2 separate regions of the Homo sapiens genome follow, and region 1 is linked to region 2. Evidence: promoter capture Hi-C in human tissues and cell types (Jung and others, 2019). All regions are on one chromosome and are shown on one strand. Each heading gives the region's core, a stretch centred on a gene start or on the middle of the fragment in contact. The rest is flanking DNA. Distances are from core to core; before and after follow the strand shown. Region 1 has its middle 24 kb from the start of LINC01226. Region 2 holds the start of NKAIN1 (sodium/potassium transporting ATPase interacting 1).

Region 1 (2,719 bases), core at 64-2,563, 250 kb after region 2:
CACTGGTGGAAGAAGCCTGGGGTCTGGAATCAGACAGACCCATGTTTGAATCCTGGCTCTGCCACTTACTGACAACCATGGAAATTCTTCATTTTAAACATCTGTAAGCCTCTGATTTTTCATCTGTAAAATGGAGATGATGATTAGTGCTTCATGGGATTGTTATGAGGATGATAAGAAATAGTGAAATTATGCAATGCATAATTTATAAAGATTCCATATTCATTAATCCAACATGGGAGTCATAGAAATGTTGGACCTGGTTTATTTTTCTTCTGATCCTTGCTACAAAACAGATGATAGTTTTTATACATTTAAGGCAAAATAACATTGGCATCTTATTTTTGTGAAATATCTCCCTTAAGGTGAAGCTTCAGATATTGCACATAAAGAAGACCTTTAATAGCATAGTTAAAGAAAAACTGAAGTATTTTTTACTTTATTCACATGGCCATCCCAGGGCCTAAAGGGTCTAACCCCCATTGTTGGCTAGTCACCCTTGAATTCCAACTCCATGCTTAGTTCATAGGATCAAACTTGTTGCTTTGTTTGTAGTGATGTTCCAGAAGAAATGAGGATATAATCAGGCAGAATGAGCTGAAAACTATTTACCCACCAGAGCTCTGCACAAGCCGGTCACAGCCCTCTGAGAAAGATAGAGCTGTCAGAGCCATTTGCTAAGAACTTTCTGCTAACATGTGTATCAGGCAGATGAGGCCAGGAACAGTCCTCTAACCCCAGGGATTTCAATTAACACGGTTTAAACTAAGATCTTTACTTAGATTATCTCATTTAATCCTCAAAACAATGCTGGTATCAAACACTAACATATTAATTCCATTTTTCAGATGAGGAAATGGAGGATCAGGAAAGGTGACATAATTTTATTAGAAGCTGGGATTCAGAAGAAGAACACAATCTCTGCATTAAATAACTTATTAAGGTTTTATAGTCAAGGGAACTGAAACCTGAGTGGCTTATTCAGGCCACAATATCCTTTTAGTTAATCCCCAGGTGTCCTAACTCCCAGGAAGAGCTGAGTTTTATATTTATGAATATACACAAATTATAAATCAGGTGCCACCAAACCTGATGATCTTTCACAAGTGTGATCTCTTGTGTCACATCCAAGCTTAGAAAGTAATTCTTTTAAAGATACTTTAGTCAATTCTCTCTCTCTTTTTTTTTTTTTTTTTGAGATGGAGTCTTGCTCTGTCACCCAGGCTGGAGTGCAGTGGCATGATCTCTGCTCACTGCAACCTCTGTTCCCTGGGTTCAAGCGATTCTCCTGCCTTAGCTCCTCAAGTAGCTGGGACTACAGGTGTGCGCCACCACGCCTGGCTAATTTTTTTGTATTTTTAGTAGAGACAGGATTTTGCCATGTTGGCCAGGTTGGTCTCAAACTCCTGGCCTCAAGTGATCTGCCCTCCTCGGCCTCCCAAGGTGCTGGGATTACAGGCATGTGCCACTGCACCTGGCTGATTTTTTAAATCCCAGCACTTTGGGAGGCCTGGAATCCTAGCACTTTGGGAGACCAAGGCAGGTGGATTGTCTGAGCTCAGGAGTTCGAGATCAGCCTGGGCAACATGGTGAAACCCTGTCTCTACTAAAATACAAAAAATTAGATGGATGTGGTGGCGGGTCCCTGTAATCCCAGGTACTCAGGAGGCTGAGACAGGAGAATCGCTTGAACTCAAGAGGCAGAGATTGCAGTGAGCCGAGATCATGCCATTGCACTCCAGCCTGGGAGACTGAGTGAGACTCTGTCTCAAAAAATATATATATATATATAATATATATATTATATATATATAATATATATATTATATATATTATATATAATATATATATTATATATATTATATATATTATATATAATATATATATTATATATATATTATATATATTATATATAATATATATTATATATATTATATAATATATATAATATATATATTTTATATATATTATATATAATATATATATTTTATATATATTATATATAATACATGTATATATAATATATTTTATATATATTATATATAATACATGTATATATAATATATTTTATATATATTATATATAATACATGTATATATTATATATTTTATATATATATTTAACTTTTTTAATAAGAGAATAACTGGTGATCCTGGACCCCCCTGGATGGATGCAGAGATTGTGCAATCTGTTTTTTGTTTTGTTGTGTTTTGGTTTTTTTAATTTAATTTTTTTATTATTATACTTTAAGTTCTAGGGTACATGTGCATAACGTGCAGGTTTGTTACATATGCATACATGTGCCATGTTGGTGTGCTGCACCCATTAACTCGTCATTTACATTAGGTATATCTCCTAATGCTATCCCTCCCCACTCCGCCCACCACACAACAGGCTCCGGTGTGTGATGTTCCCCACCCTGTGTCCAAGTGCTCTCATTGTTCAATTCCCACCTATGAGTGAGAACATGCGGTGCTTGGTTTTTCGTCTTTGCAATAGTTTGCTGAGAATGATGGTTTCCAGCTTCATCCATGTCCCTACAAAGGACATGAACTCATCCTTTTTTATGGCTGCATAGTATTCCATGGTGTATATGTGCCACATTTTCTTAATCCAGTCTATCATTGATGGACATTTAGGTTGGTTCCAAGTCTTTGCTGTTGTGAATAGTGCCACAATAAACATACGTGTGCATGTGTCTTTATAGCAGCATGATTTA
Region 2 (2,722 bases), core at 58-2,557:
ACTACAGTCACTCCTCCCTGAGACAAGAACCTGAGTTCCCTATGCTGGGGCTAGGCACAGTGTCCTCAGATGCTCTGGTCCTCCCTAGGGCACCCAAGTGTCCCCATCCCCACTGTTGCTGGCCCCGGCAGAGGAGCTGCTCTGGTGGGTGGAACTGATGACTGATGGAACCCCCATGGCCACAGCGGCCAGACCAAAGCAGGAAGTGTGGTCCAGGCTGGGTCAGGCTGGCCCAGGATCTGGCAGCTCCTGGTGACCCTCTCCAGGGAGGTGGCTCTCCTTTCCCAGGACTGCCCGGTCAGGAAGGTGAAGGGAGGCAGAAACAACACAAAGGATTGGAGGGTTCTTGGAGTCTAAGATCCCAGAACACAGATGAACATGGGCCAGAAATGGTCAGCGATTTAGAGACACACCAAAGAGAAACCCTGAGAGACACACGCCGGAGCAGAGACTTTGTGAGAAACGCTCACACAGGGGTGGTGATCAGAGGCAGAGACCCAGAGGAAGGGAGAGACCCATGCAAACGAGGGATCTAGAGGGAAACACACAGCAGGACCTCAACGGATCCACAGATCAGCCTCAGACACACCCCCAGTCCCAGCAAGCCACCGTCCCACAGCGCATCCCCCAACAGGAGGCCACTTGTACAGTGCGGGCGGGCCGGGGACTCGCGCACAGGACGCACTTGGGGACCGGAGGAGCGCCGGGCACAGCAGCGAGAAGCGCACACAAAGAGACAGCCCGGCCAGCGGGAGCAGGCTCCGCCCGACCGCTCCGAGACTCCAGACCACCCCCCGCCCGGGCACACGCACCAGACACACACACAGAGACACACGCAACCCCACCCGCACGCCCTGGGACCGCGCCCCGCCGCGCCCCACCCTGCCCCGACTGCCTGGGCACGCGACGCTTACCAGCTGCAGGCAGCAGAAGGCGACCAGCGTGCAGCGCCCGCTGCACTTGCCCATGGCTCCGGGGGCTGCGCGGGCCGCACGCCGCGGCGCCCTTCTTGCTCCGCGGCCGCCGCCTGCTCGCGCCGCGCGGGCTCCACGTCCTCCCCGCTGGGCGCGCCGGGCGGCGGGGCCGGGCGCCTAGGGCCGGGCCCGGGAGTGTCCGGTCCCCAAGGCTGGGGCCGGCCGCCCGCGCTCCGAGTCCATGGTCCGTCCGTCCGCGCGCTGGCCCCGCCGAGCCGCGCCTCCTTTGTCTAGCGGGCCGTCCGTCAGGCGCGCCTCCTGCCCCGGGGCGGCTGGCGGGGAGCGCGGAGCAAGGAGAGCGAGCCCCGAGCGCGGCGCAGCGCAGAGCAGCACTGCCCAGCTGGGGCAGTCGCCCGGGCTCTCGTCGGCCGCGGCTTCCCGGCCCCACCACGTGGCTCCGCCGCCGCCACCGACAGGGAGGGAGTTGGGGGGAACGGCAGAGGGGTGGGGCGGGGGAGCCGCCGGAGGGGAGGGGAGAGGGATAGGGAGGTGGAGGGTTGGAGAGGCAGGGAGTGAAGTGGAAGAGTGCGTGCGGGCTTAGGGGACAACAGCCCTGAGTCAAATCCAGACTTTGCTGCTCACTCGCTGTGTGACCTTGGGCAAATCACGTCACCTCTCTGGACCTGTTTTCTCATGAACAAAGTAGGAATAATTATGCCTCTTTAGTGTAGATATGAAGATGAAATGCAGTCATGTGAATAAAGCGCTTAGCCCTGTGCCTGGCCTCCTGGCTTGGAACACTTTTTTGTCCACCCTGTCTCTAGGGCTCCAGGGTTCCAACTTGGACTTCTAGTTCTATTTACGTTCCCAGATCTGCTCCTCACCCCAGCCTCTCCCCTGAGTGTCTGGCCACATTTTTCGCCTTCCTTCTTTCCGTCTACTGGCATTTATTGAGCCCTGACTGCATACACACCCCTGGGGGCCCTGCGAGCCAGAGATGAGACCTGCAACACTGTTCCAAATCCCGTAGAGCTGCACCGCCCAGGGAACAGATAGGCTCCCAAGAGCACGCCAGTGAGATGGGTGATGGCAGAGATCTGCCCAGGTGGAGGTAGGGAGCCCCTACCCTGGGCTGCAGTAGGGACAGAGTCAGAAGTTTCCCAGCAGAAGATTGCCTTCTCCAAGCCACCCCCAAAAGCCCTCGAACTGGACACATCTCAAATCCACATAATCATTCCTGTCCCACTCCTAACTTCCTATATTCACCTTGGCAATTAGCATCACCCAAGTGGAATTTCCTAGGTCATCCTCCAGGCTTCCCTACAATTACATCTGATCTGTCACTACATTCTATAAACTGTACTTTCCAACTAACATTTATGAAATACCCACTATGTGCCAGGTTCTCTGCTGGGGATAAGGGAACAAAACCCGACAAAATCTCTGCCCTCATTGAGCACACAGTCTAGTGAGGGATTGTCATTAAAACAAGGAAATATACAAATAAATACGCAAAGTTCTGATGAATACTCTAAAGAATATTAAAGAAGAAACGTGGCACGGTGGCTCACACCTGTAATTTCAGCACTTTGGGAGGCTGAATCAGCTCACTGCAACCTCCACCTGAGTGGAGATCGGCCTCCCAAAAGTGAGTGGATCACCTGAGTTCAGGAGTTCGAGACCAGCCTGGCCAACGTGGTGAAACCCCATCTCTACTAAAAATACAAAAATTAGGCAGGGATGGTATCAGGCACCTGTAATCCCAGCTACTCAGGAGGTTGAGGCAGGAGAATCGCTTGAACCCGGGA

Evidence for each region. Contacts are between HindIII fragments. The study calls those that stand out against the background at their distance.
Region 1: a contact is called between a fragment that was not itself captured here and the fragment with the promoter of NKAIN1 in region 2, in 3 of the 25 tissues and cell types used here (dorsolateral prefrontal cortex, lymphoblastoid cells and mesenchymal stem cells).

The regions. Positions count from the first base shown.
Region 1 is chr1:31,492,988-31,495,706 of GRCh38, forward strand. No RefSeq gene overlaps it. Among named protein-coding and RNA genes, the nearest start is that of LINC01226, 24 kb to the right of the region's middle. The HindIII fragment of the contact is 6,478 bases long and covers 1-2,719 here.
Region 2 is chr1:31,238,580-31,241,301 of GRCh38, forward strand. It overlaps NKAIN1 (sodium/potassium transporting ATPase interacting 1), which reads right to left and starts at 1,308. Exons shown (of 7, transcript NM_024522.3): 1 at 915-1,308. The coding sequence starts at 968. The HindIII fragment of the contact is 31,179 bases long and covers 1-2,722 here.